2 separate regions of the Homo sapiens genome follow, and region 2 is linked to region 1. The links are contacts of gene promoters, found by promoter capture Hi-C in blood cells and fetal thymus (Javierre and others, 2016). All regions are on one chromosome and are shown on one strand. The core of a region is centred on a gene start or on the middle of the fragment in contact, and the rest is flanking DNA. Distances in the headings are between cores, read along the strand shown. Region 1 holds the start of TENT4A (terminal nucleotidyltransferase 4A). Region 2 has its middle 15 kb from the start of LINC02145.

Evidence for each region. Contacts are between HindIII fragments. The CHiCAGO score rates a contact against its expected background, and 5 or more counts as called.
Region 2: a fragment that was not itself captured here is called in contact with the fragment with the promoter of TENT4A in region 1 in 1 of 17 cell types (naive CD4 T cells); the score reaches 5.3 in naive CD4 T cells.

What each region holds. Positions count from the first base shown.
Region 1 is chr5:6,709,320-6,715,866 of GRCh38, reverse strand. It overlaps TENT4A (terminal nucleotidyltransferase 4A), which reads right to left and starts at 2,435. Exons shown (of 13, transcript NM_006999.6): 1 at 1,168-2,435. The coding sequence starts at 1,883. RefSeq lists enhancers at 20-69, 3,287-3,346 and silencers at 1,067-1,456, 1,827-1,896, 2,197-2,566, 2,677-3,116. The HindIII fragment of the contact is 9,360 bases long and covers 1-6,547 here.
Region 2 is chr5:6,349,419-6,355,965 of GRCh38, reverse strand. No RefSeq gene overlaps it. Among named protein-coding and RNA genes, the nearest start is that of LINC02145, 15 kb to the right of the region's middle. RefSeq lists an enhancer at 5,276-5,570. The HindIII fragment of the contact is 3,865 bases long and covers 830-4,694 here.

The sequences.
Region 1 (6,547 bases), core at 1,186-3,685:
CTGCACTGCATGTTTACACTTCGGGAAATTTAGAAGGTATCGCTTGTAGCCCAAGCCAGGTGAAATAAGTTACAGAACATGCAGCTATTACAGTGTATCACACGCTTTAAAGAAGTATCAACTCGTGTTTCCCAACATACTTCAAATGAGAAAAAGAGTTACAAGCAAAAGTTTACTATAAGAACTCCCAACACCTAGCAATTGTGGTTATTTGTAGGACTCTACTGCATGCAACAACCCTCATACCCCAGCAAATCCTTAATTGTTTTTTAAATTGGGGGGAAAAATTGTGCAAGGAAAAATTATCATTTAAGTCTTAAAATACTGACATACAACCTACACATAAATTGCTTCCAGACGCTCAGAAAAGCCCAAAATGGCAAAGGGGCTGCGTCAACAGCATCACACCTGAACAGCCTCACCTGGGACAATTCCAACCCCGAAACACACACCACCTTTCGTTTCATTCCTTGCCGTCTGTAAGTGCACTAAATTTAAGTAGAGCCTCTAATTCCCTCTAGGCGGATGTAGAAATATTTAAAATAAAAATGGCACCTTCCAAAGAATAGACATATATGACAAATCTGGTTTTTTCTTTGAATTAAGCCAATGTTTATAAACCATAGGCGATGCTTATGGTAATTGCAGCACAAAATTAAAGGACACAACACCCCCCAAAAAATGAATCACCTCTAAGTTGACAGTTAAATTTTTTTAAAAAATGAAATTAAAAAGGTTAATATTTACCTTCGACGTGATTCGAGTTCCTGGCAATGCTAAATTATTCTGCAACTTAACTTACGTGAAACTCCACACTTATCTACGCCCCACTTTGACAAGGGGTTCCTCACTTGCCCGGAGGCGGGGTGGAGGGGTAGAGAGTCGATTTCCCGTTCCAATCTCAAGAGTAAAAAAGACAAATACCTGCAGGTCCTACCCAGCAGCCCCTTTTCTTGGACTGTTACTTGTAGGATCTGGGCAAGTCACTCCACGATAAATGAGTCTGATGTTTAAAAAAAAAACTTTCAGTGCAGAGTCGGGCCTTGGCCTTAGCCTTCAACATCCATCCTCCAAAAGCCCGGGCGCCTGGGACGGGTGTCTGCACCGCGGGCGCCGGCCAGGACCATGGGCCCCGCCCCCGCCCCCGCGGCCTCCCCGCGCACTCACCCCTGGATGCCCGGGCTGTACGCGCGGCTCTTCCACGGGGTGCCGGGCCGCGGCGCCTGGGCCCCGGGGCCGCCCCCTCCGCTGAGAGCGGCCGCGCGGCTGCCGGACAGCAGGTAGTTGAGGCCGTAGGTGCTGGCCTTGTTCTCGCGTTTCCGGCGACCCGGGTGGAACTGGTGCTGCGACGGGGAGCCGGCGGGCGCGGGGCCGCGCGGCCCGGGGTGCCCGTTGGCTGTGCCAGGGGCGCTGGGCGCGCCGTCGGCGAAGTTGAAGAAGGCGCCGCCGCGGCCGCCGCCCGGCCGGCCCAGCGAGGCGCTGCTGGAGGACGACGACGAGCAGCCGGGGCTCTCGGTGCCCGACTCCGCGTTGGACGAGGAGGACGACGACGAGGACGACAGCGACGGCGACTTGTGCAAGCGCCGCGCGCCCTCGGCCGCGGGCCCCAGCGCCGTCAGCAGCGCGGGGGGCAGCGCGGCGGGCGCGGTGGGGCCGGGCGGCGGGGGCGACGCGGCGGGCAGCGCGGGGCCCAGGCCGCCACTGCCCCGCCCGGCCGCCCCCGCCGCGGCCGCCGTGTCCAGCGCCGGCGAGTTGAGGCAGAAATAGGACGCGAAGCCCGAGCCGCCGCGGCCCACGCCCTGCGAGGTCTCCCAGATCTGCATCCACAGGGCATTGGCCGGCCCCTTCTGCTCGGGCTGGATCCAGGCCACGCGCGGATCCATCCACGCGCCGCCCCCGCGGGGCCCGCGCGCCCGCCCGCCCCGACGCGGCCCCGCCCCCGCCGCGCCCCGAGGCCCGGCCGCGCGCGCACGGACGGACGGACGGGCCTGGGCCGGTGGCGGCGGCGGCGGCGGCGGCGGCGGGCGGGCCGAGCCCCGGCCTCCTGCTCTAGCCGCGCTCCCGTCGGGCTCCGGCGTGGGGCGGCGGCGGCGGTGATGGGCCCCGGCAGGCCGCGGCGGGCGGCTCCGGCGCTTGGCGCGTCCCAGCGGGCGGCTGCGGTCTCCGGGCTCCCGCTTCACGCGGCGCGGGGCGGGCGCGGGGGCCGCGGCGGCGGCGGCGTTCCACTCGGGCCGCGGGGAGAGGCCATCGGAGAAGGGCGGGCGGCGGGGCCGAGGGGGCGGGCCCAGGCGCCGAGCGGCTGAAGGACCCGCGGGAGGCGCCGCCGCCCGTGCGGCTAGCCCTCAGTCACGCTCGCGCCGCTGGCTCGGCGCTCCTGCGGCGGCGGCGGCGGCGGCGGTGAAAAGACACTCTCGGCGGCGACAGCGCGGGGGAAGGAGGGGGCCGCCGCCGCGTCCGCTCCAATGAGGGGCGGGGGAGGGGGCGGGGACGGGGGCGGCAGGAGGAAGCGCGGCCTCGGTCGCCGGGCCGTGTCGCCGGTGCGCACGCGCGACCGATTTCAAATCCTCACTAGACACTGCCGCCGTGGTTACCGCGCCTGCGCGTTGGGGCCCCGTCGGCCGCGGGCGGGGTGAGGACGGCGTCAGAAGCTACGCGACTGGGAGGGGCTGGAGGGAGAGGCGGTGGCGTTGAGCCATTACTGACTAGGCCGGCGTTGGGTGGAATAGGCAGCGGCTGGAAGGCCCGCACGCCGCCCTCGGCCCGCCGCGGCGCGCAGACCCCGGCGTGCAGACATGCGCGCTAGGGCCGGTGTCACCGGGCTGCCGCCTGAGCCGCGCTGCGCGTGCGCAGGGCAGCGTGGCCGTCACCGCCGCCGGTGGAAGTTTCCGAGCAGCCGGGCGGGGGCAGCGGACGCCACCGCAGGCGCTTCCCCCGCCGGCCGGCCCTCCCTCCTGACGTAAGGGCGGGCCCCGGTCGCAGATCCCGCCCCAGGTCTCTCATCCGAGGGTCCGTGCAGCAGGTCACGCTGCGCTCTCTGGGGTCCGCGCGTCGGCCCACGTGCTCCCTGCACCTCGCGGGGTGAGCGGCCAGCGTGCCGTGCCGGGTGGCTGGCTCCGCCGCTCCGGAGCCGGGAAGGACACGCGGCAGAGTCCTGCTCCCTAGCGGGTCTGCTTACAGGCGTTTGGTTTGCTTTTTAAAATGATTTTCTATGCGAAAAGTGAAGTGAAAACTTCCAAGTTAATTCCCTGGGCAAAATGGGCAGTGCTAGCCGAGGAACGGCTGGTGGGCGGCGCGTCCGGCCCCCGGCTTCGGTTTTTCCAGCTGCACCGAGCGGGCAGGAGTCAGTGGGAAACCGCCCGCCATCCACAGCCTGCCGTTTGCCATCCCGGTGTCCCGAGCGCGATGGAAGCCGGGTTGACAGTGGCACTGTTTGGAATACAGCGCCAACCACACATCCTGTGAGGTCCAAAGCAAACGCCAGTGTCGTTGATCATCGCGGTGCCCCGCGAGCCTGGGCGACGTGAGGCCCCGCGGCTGCCGCCCTGTCTTCAGGCGGAGTCCCCGCAAATGCACTCCCGGGCCAGGGCCCTGAAGCTGCCTTAGCCCAGTGGCGCCCGGGCTCCAAGCCTTTTAAGTAGAACGGGACCTGGCCTTCGTACAGGCGTGTTGTAAATGCTACCCCCTCGTCTCCAGCACAGATGAGTAGACATTACTAAGCACTTGACCCTTCAAACATCGCCCCAACAGGAAAGGTCCGTGTGTTGCATACAAAGGCTTTGGGGCAAGTGGTGGTGGTTAGTAATGAAAATGAATGTTTCAGACGTTTTCAAATACCTTCATATTGTACACGTGGAAATCATGACCAAGGATTAGAACGTGCATTCAGTAAACTACAGAAAATCACACACAAGTCAAACGGCCGTTATTCTGGAGCTGTTTGCTTCCAATGGCTCAGTCCAAAATCCTTGGTCATGCCTGGCTCCTCTCTCTGTCCACAATGAACACATCCTCTTGGCTCCACTGCCCGAAACAACCAGAACCCAACTGCTACCCCTCCTCCTCCCTCCACCCCTCTTTCCCCGCCACCCGTCCATTTTAAAGCAGTGCCTTCTAGCTGGTTTCCCACATTCTGCACAGCTGCTCGTGTGATCCTTTTTAAAAAACAAAAAAGATGTTACTATTTTAAAAATCATCTCATGCCACTCTTAGAATACTATGCAGCCGTAAAAAGGAATGAGATCATGACCTTTGTGGGGACATGAATGGAGGTGGAAGCCACTATCCTCAGCAAACTAACACAGGAACAGAAAACCAAACACCGCATGTTCTCAGTAATAAGGGGGAGCTGAGCAATGAGAATGCATCGACACAGGGAGGGGAACAACACACACCGGGACCTGTTGGGGGTTAGGGGAAGGGAGAGCATCAGGATAAATAGCTAATGCATGCAGGGCTTAATGCCTAGGTGATGGGTTCACAAGTGCAGCAAACCACCATGGCACACATTTACCTATGTAACAAACCTGCACGTCTTGCACGTGTATCCCAGAATTTAAAGTTGACATTTTAAAAAATTCAGTCCATGCCACTCCTCTGCTCAAAACCCTCCAGTGGCTTTCTCATTCAGCAAAATGGAACAACCTTGCTATGACCTGCAAGTCCCTTATCCCCTGGTCCTTCCCCTCTTCCCCTGCCCTCACCTCCCAGCGCTTTCCCTAGCCCAAACAATACCAGCCAGAAGCACCCCTGGCACACTCCTGCCTCAGGGCCTTTGCACTTGCTGTTCCATCTGCCTGACATGCGTTCCCTCCTCCCCATCTTAGTGAGGACGTCCAAGTGGCTCTTTAGTCTAAACTGCAAACATAACCCTCAGCATCCCGTTTCCCTTCCCCATTTGCTTTTTCTCCCTTAGTTTCCTGGAGCTGAGTAACAAAATGTCACAAACTGGGTGGCTTAAAACAACAAACGCATGCTCTCACAGTCCTAGAGGCTGAACGTCCAAAATCAAGTTGTCAGCAAGGCCGTGTATCCTCTGAAGGCTGTAAGGGAGTGTGCCCCATGCTCTCCTCTCAGCTTCTGGTGTTGCTGGCAAACCGTGGCATTCCTTGGCTTGTTGGTGCATCACCCCACTCTCTGACACGTCATCGCATGACGTTTCCCTGTGTCCTTGATTTGTGGATGCAGCGCTCCACTCTCTGTCATCATCATCGCATGGCATTTTCCCTGTGTCCATGTCTCTTCTCAGAAAGACACCAGTGGCATTGGATTAGGGCACCCTAGTGTCTTCCTCCTAACCTGATTACATCTGCAAAGAGTTTCCAAATAAGGTCATATTCGCAGGCACCCAGGGTTGGGACTTGATCATATCTTTTTGGGGGACACTATACCACGTCATATGTATTTTATCTCATTTATCATTTGTGTCCCCCGCCCCATTAGAATGCATGCTCCGTGAAGAGAGGATAGGAATGGCTTGTCCCTGCTGTGTATCAGCTCAAGGATTGTCTGACACATCAGTCCTTGGTGAACATTGGCAGAATGACTGGCAGCTGATTGATTGGCCCAGCGGGAATGGACACGGGCAGTTGCCCTTGTCCAGCTTCCAGGATCTGTTACACAGGTTGTCATTGTTTAGGTATTTTAAGTTTTTCTTGATTGCCTCATACTCTGTCTTTGCAGTTTGCCTCTAGCTAATCCTCGTTGATTTGATCCACCAGCCACCAAACAACATTTTGTAATTAAAACCAAGGTTTTGTTATTTATATATGATCATAAATATTTTTATGTAAATTAAAAGCAGTGTATATATATGTATATATACACATATACATATATATACATATGTGTATATATATGTATATGTGTAGAGAGAGAAAGAGAGAGAGAGTCTCACTCTGTCACCCGGGCTAGAGTGCAGTAACGCAATCCTGGCTCACTGCAACTTCCGCCTCCAGAGTTTAAGTGATTCTCATGCCTCAGCCTCCTGAGTAGCTGGGGTTACAGGTGTGTGCCACCGCATCCGGCTAATGTTTGTATTTTTAGTAGAGATGGGGTTTCACTGTGTTGGCCAGGCTAGCCTTGAACCCCTGACCTCCAGTGATCCACCCACCTCAGCCTCCCAAAGTGCTGGGATTACAGGCATGAGCCACCGTGCCCGGCTGCAGTGTATTTCTTAATGCAATCAAGAAACAATACTGAATGTAAAATGCAGTTTTTGAGACGCTGGGCAAGGGAGATCTTTCTCTTTATCAATTTCTACAGATAAGTGCAGCCCATTCCCGTTTTGGGCTGAAACCCTCTCCTCTCTCTCTTCGGATATTGGAGGAGGAATAATATTAGAGATTACACCATGATTTTAGTGATTTGTTCCCATGAAAAAAATGGTTTACAAAGTGTATTCCATGGACTACCCATGCCAGAATTAGCAATGCTGGTCAAAATGCAGATACCTAGAGCTCACCCAATTTACTGAAACTCTCTAGGAGCAAGCCCAGGAATCTCTATTTTAAGTAAATTTTCTGAGTAATTCTAAAACACAGTGAACTCT
Region 2 (6,547 bases), core at 1,513-4,012, 360 kb after region 1:
TAACCTACAGAATCCCAAGATGATAAACTAGTGTTGTTTTAAGCTGCTAAGATTGTGATGACTTGTTACAACAGCAACAAGAAACGAACACAACAGGTTGCCCGAAAGAGTCTCTTTCGACTCCAAGGCCATTCACTTTCCACCAGCCAGGGGTATCTTGGTTTCAGGAAGAAGATAAGATGTCATTAGATGGTAGCCTGGAGCTCACACAGGGCAGCTGCGTCCATCTGGGCAGAGAGGACGCTTTCTGGAATGGCTTTCTGTTGGTGATGCCTTCCAGGATGGCCATGGGGCAGACAGGAAAGAAGGGAGAGCCTTAGGTCGAGGGCATTGGGGTCCCTGCCCTCACAGGAGCTGGTGCTGAGGGCGGGACATGTAGGCACCAAGGGCAACCTGTTCCATGAACAGCCCAGCAAGAAGCTGCAGCACCCAGGAGGCCCCAGAGGTACCTGGGGTGAGGGCCTGCCTGGGCATCACGGCTGCACACAGTGGCTCAGTGCCAGCAGAGAACCGCCAGGGGAGAGGGGTCTCCTGCGGAGGAACTTGGTGCCTCGTGTGCCTTCCTAGTAGCTGTCACACAATAGGGACCCTGGGAATGTCCTAGGAAATGACACAGACTCCTAGCTCCACTTGGCCAGTTTCTGCATTTAGAAGGGTGAGCTCTGGGAGGACCTGCTTTGAAGACGCAGTGATGTCACGTAGACTGAGTTTGTGAACTTTCAGGGGTGAAGGATTGGAAAGCTGCCTTTCTTTGGCTATTTCATAAGTATACCAAGATAGTAGAATTCCTACAGCTAAAGAGCAGTGATGTATTACTTTTCAGTAAGCTTTGCAGACCTGGGTGTAGAAAGCATTGCAGCATCCTCACCTCTTCTCTGAGTGTCCCCTTCACACAAGTCGGCCATCCTCTGAGTTCTCAAAGGGAGGCTGTTCCCTCTCTTGCCACTGAGGCGTGCCCTCCCTGCTCCCCTCCCTGTGGCCTTGTCCACATGCTCTCTTTCACCCTCTGCCAGACACAAAGCCCATCTAAGCCCATGTCCCATAGCTCTTATCCCTGACCTACAGGACCACTCCCTCATTCCCTGAGCCTCCGGACCCTGGTCATGGTGTTCCTTTCATTTTCCTTCCTGGCACCATTTTTAGGTCATTGGTCTCCTTGAGGATAATCTGCTGAATGCCTGGTCTCTGTTGTGGGACCTCCTCACAGCTCTAACCACCTTCCTGGCACGCTGTGGCCTCCTTCTCCTGTGGCTGGACCCCCAGCCTGTCTCTCCCCAGCCTCTGCCTCCTTCTCCCATGGCTGGACCCCAGCCTGTCTCTCCCTAGCCTCTGCCTCCTTCTCCCATGGCTGGACCCCCAGCCTGTCTCTCCCCAGCCTCTGCCTCCTTCTTCCGTGTTTGAACCTCAGCCTGTCTCCCTCCAGCCTCTGCCTCCTTCTCCCGAGGCTGGACCCCCAGCCTGTCTCCCTCCAGCCTCTGCTTCCTGCTTCTATGTCTGGACCCTCAGCCTGTCCCCCTCCAGCCTCTGCCTCCCTCTCCCAAGGCTGAACCTCAGCCTGTCTCCCTAGTCTCTGCCTCCTTCTTCCATGTCCAGACCCTCAGCCTGTCCCCCTCCAGCCTCTGCTTCCTTCTTCTGAGGCTGAACCTCAGCCTGTCTTCCCCCAGCCTCTGCCTCCCTCTCTGACTGCCTCCGCCTGCCCAGCCTCCTGGGTGAGCCCCCACTGTGGTGCTTTCTGGCCCCCATTCATTCTTCTTACCTCATTTCTGCTCCCTAGCTTTCCCTCCACCCTTAGTTCCTTTCTTACCCAGCTAAGATTCTGTGGCTCATGATGTCATTCCTTCTTTTGAGCATCCTCAATTCCCTTGCCCTCTTCCCTCTCTTTTATAATTCACTTGGAAACATCCCAGCTCTGATTAAACACATTTATCTACCCTGAGGATCTGAACATCGCAGGAGACAGTTACACATCTGGCTGAGGCTCACTTACGATTCATGATTGCAAACCTCAGAAGGGTCTTAGTGCGGCCTGGAAACCCGGCCGAGTGGTCCTGGCCACTTTGGTGCCCCCAACCCCCCTGCCCCATGTCCCTGAGGACCTTTTCAGGGGCCCGAGGCAGCAGGGAGTCTCCCTTCCTGGTGAAGCCTCTTGAGCCCGGGGAACCCTGGGCGCCACCCGGGAATGGGAGCCGCCTAATGCTCAGGCCCTCCCCAGCCTGTTCTGACTTACTTGGCCTAGAGTGGGGCCCAGGCAGAATTCGATTTTACTGTTTAATTTCCTCATTTCATTGAAGTAGAAGAGTGGATCGGTTTCCTGCAGCTGCTTTTACAAATGACCACAGACATGGTCTCTTAAAATAACAGAAATTTATTCTCTCAAACTCCTGAACTGAAGTGATCTGCCCGCCTTGGCCTCCCAAAGTGCTAGGATTACAGGCATGAGCCACCCGTGCCCAGCCTTAGAAATGTATCCTGATAGTTCTGGAAACCAGAAGTCTGAATTCAGCGGGGCTGTGCTCACTCCGAAGGCCCCAAGGAAGGATCCTTCCTGCCTCTTCCAGCTCTGGGTGCTCCGGGAGCTCCTTGGCTTGTGGCCACATCCCTTGAAGCTCTGCCTCCATCTTCACATGGTCTTCTCTGTGTCGCTGTGTGGCCTTTTCTCTCTCTTACAAGGAGGCTCTCATTTTAGGTTTCCAGCCCACGTGGGTAATCCGGGATAAATTCCTCCTTTCAAGATCCTCACCATAATCACATCTTCTGCCATATCAGGTAGGGTTGATTCTCATCATAAAAGATTCTGGGAACTAGGTTGTGGACCTATGTTTTAGGGGGTCCCCATTCGGCCCACTACAAACAGATAGAAGGGAAATGAACAGATTCTAAGTACACAGCTCAGTGAATCGTCACAAATGAAACACATCCAGGCAAACAGGATACAGAAGAAGGAATAGCACCTCTCCCACATCCTGCAAGCCCCTCGTGCCTCCTACTTGTCCTTAACCCGCATTCCAACAGGACCCACCTCCCACGTCTGAACAGCACAATTTTGAACCACACATACACCGAGCCACACTGTGTGCGCTTTTGTGCCTGCTTTTTTTGCTCACCATTATATGTGAGATAAATCCCTTTTGTTGTGTCTAGTTGAAACTTGTTCATCTTCATTGTTGCGGTATAGCTTTGACTGTGTGAACACACCGCAATTAGGGATCCATTCTACTGTAGGTGGGCATTGGGTTGTTTCTAGATTTTGGCAACTATGAATCTTGCTGTTGTGATGATGTGTGGATTTGTCTTTGGATGCACACACATACTCGTTGCTGTTGTGTGAATGCCTAGGAACAGGGTTTCTGGGCCATAGGGAGATGTGTTCTCAGCATCAGTAGATCCTGCAAACCCTGTTCTGGAATGGATGAGTGAACGCTTTCTCAATAGAGATGAGAGCTCATGTTGCACTCCCTTCCACGCTGGGTACTGCCTTTGTCACGTCAGTAGTTCTCACGTGTGCAGGGTGTTGCATTGCCCTGTGGGAGATATCAACCATTTTTTCATCTGTTTACTAGCCACGCGGCTATCCTCTTCTGCATAGTACCTGTCCAAGTCATTTGCCCATTTCTTTGAATTGTCTGGATTTATTGGATTTTTCTTGTTGATTTGCCCAAGTCCTTTGCCAAATGCGTGTCTTATGAATGTCTTTTCTGTGGTCTGAATTTCCCTCTCAGTGGTGTCTTTTGATGAATAATACTTCTTATGTTCATGTGGCTCAATGTACCTTTTTTTTTCCTTTTGTGGTTTTAGTGCTTTTTTTTCTTTTCCCATATTTTCTTAAAGTTTTATTATTTCACCTTTCATGGTGAGACTTACAATCTATATGGAATTAAATTTGTAAATGTGAGGTCAGAATGGGGGATATGTGTCTATTGCCCCTGATATTTAGATACACATCTAAATATCTGCTGCCTTTTCTCTGTCTCTTGTTGTCTTCGTTTTGAGGACTCTCCTTTTCCTGAGTGTCCCATGGCTGATTTTGTGTGGGTGGCAGTGGGAGGGCAGGAGGAGGAAGAGGGACTGCTGGGTCCTGTGTCTTTATTCCCAGCTCCCTCCCGCCCAGTGAACTCTGGTCTGGTGGGCAGCAGACTGGCTCCCTCACTTCCCTTACTTCTCTTCCAGGAAGCCCATCCTGGTCTCCATTCCCCAAAGCTGCTCTCCTGCTTGACTTCAGCCACACCCTCCTGCCACCCTCTTCCTCTGCCTGCTAGCCCTTTGGCTCTCCAGGGAGTGCGGCTCATGGCTTGTCTCCCCATTGATCCTCCTTCACCTCCTGCTTGTGTCTCCTGTGCCTGACAACGAGCTCACCTTCCTGCCTCACTGTGAGTGCCTGCCCTGCCAGCCCTGCTGATGCCGTGAGTTTCTTCTGCCCTCCACTGTGCCGCACGGCACAGCCCATCATAGCACTTTGCTTGCCTGGAGGTCTGCGAGCCTTCTCAGGGGAAGGAGGGGGCTTTTCCCCCTTGGCCTCACTGTATTCATTGAATTGCATGAAATTGGATTACTCTCCAGCATTGCCTGAGTCCAGTGTTGAGAGAAAGGTAGGTGAACTCCATCCATGAGTACAAGGGAAATTCTTTGGAAATGTGTTTGTAAGCTACTCTGTCTGGTATTTTCATTGGTATTTGGTCCAACGCTTGCCATAAGCTTCTGTGTTCCCTGCCACTTTACTGAGAGGAATGCAATCCCTCCCAAAGTCCCTGACACTGGGCACCCCAGAAGTGTCATTCCCAATGTGAGTAATGAGCACTTCCAACCCACCAGAGAAATATTGCCCTCAAGATGAAGGGGGAGCCAGGTGTCTGTGGCTAAAGAGACCTCTCCCTGCCCACAGTACCATTTCCATGGCTTTGGAGGAAAGCATGGGACCATGGCTTGCTCATAGGCTGGGGAAGGTGCTGGGGGCATGGGTCCTTTTGACCCCTTGGTCTCTGACAATCAGGAGATCTTGACTCCATTCGACACCTGTCCCAGAGGAGGCAGTGCCCTGTCTCCTCTTGTCCCTCTCTAGGTGCTGCTGGTGGGTACGGCAGGCCCCGTGGGTGATGCCATCCTGCTCGCCATAGAAGGAGTGGACAAGAGCTATGCTGCAGCCGTGCTGAGGGTGTGCCGGCTCTGTTGCTGTGGGGTGACCATTCAGGTCCTGCAGAGGAGCGAGGGGCTGTGCCCAGAGACTCCATGATACCCTTTGTCCTCAGGAACTCCCTGGAATGTGATGGCTCAGGCCGGAAATTCTTCCCCCAAAGAAGCCGAAGTGATCACCGGCCGGTATATGAGCACGGTGCATCAGTGTGTTCGCTGGGCCTGGGTGTCCCTGCTGAGAGACCTCCCTGCCGTTGACCCGGTGACACCCCAACATTGATCCTGTAAAACGAAGCCCAGGCAGAACAGCAGCAAGGACAGCAGCAGCAGCAAGGAGCTTCCTTTGCCTCTTTGTCAGACGTGTCCTCCGAGTCTGACTCCTCCCCTTCCCTCCCTCCCTCCCAGCAGTTGCTGATATTATTTTAGGGTTCTAGCCAGGAAAGGAGAATAATTGGTAAACAAGCAAATCCCATGCCTGAAGAATCATGTTTTCACAGTACAATCAATGCTTTTTGGAGTGAGGGGTTATATATTAAATGGTCAGGATTATTTTGAGACAAAAATGAAGGTTAATGGAATGAAGCTTAGTATTAAATAGCTTGCAGATGTCTTTTTAACCTATGAAGTGGTCGTCTGCTTTTACTAGTGGGACAGCTTGACCAGTGTAATGATTTTCAAGCTACAGAGACAGGTAATATGCCATACATAATTGCATAATATGTAAGAAAAATATCCATTTTCCTCGCACTTTATAAGACAAGTGTGTGCAGGTACCAGATTAATGATGTCAGTCTGGCTAGTTCTACTTGACATTTTTTTCTTAAAATTTTAACATATAGATTTTATACTTCTCGACTCTTATAACCTTGTATGCAGTAATGACTAATCAATTAAATGATACCCCCAAATATTAATATAAATGCTAGGCAAGATACAAGAATTCCCCAGCGGGTCCATTTTGCTGCCTCTGGTTTAGAAAATCAACTTTGCAGCCGGCACGTTGGTGGTGCCACTGTGATATACTCAGGTTTGTGTGGATGCTTCCTGCCTCGCCTTCCTGCCGCAGGGGTGGGAAGTGTGTGGTGTTGAGGTCAAAGGACCGGGCAGGTCCATGTGACTGCTCAGGTGAGGCTGGACCGTCTAACATAGGGGCTTTGGGATCACGTCCACGCCTCCCTTCATGGGTGAGGGACAATACTGTGGTTTCTCACAAGGACGCGCCCATCTGGAGATAAAAGTGAGGCACTGAAGGTGGAATTTGCTCCTGGATGAGGGCCCGGTTTGCTGGCCCCTCCCGGCGGCTGCCCCCACCCACTTGTTTTCCAGCTTGGCAGTGCTGAGCAGGGTGTCTCTGGGCAAACCCCGTCCGTGCCTGCGGAAGCCAGAGGGAGCCGCCTGTGCTCGGCGCCAACCATGGAAG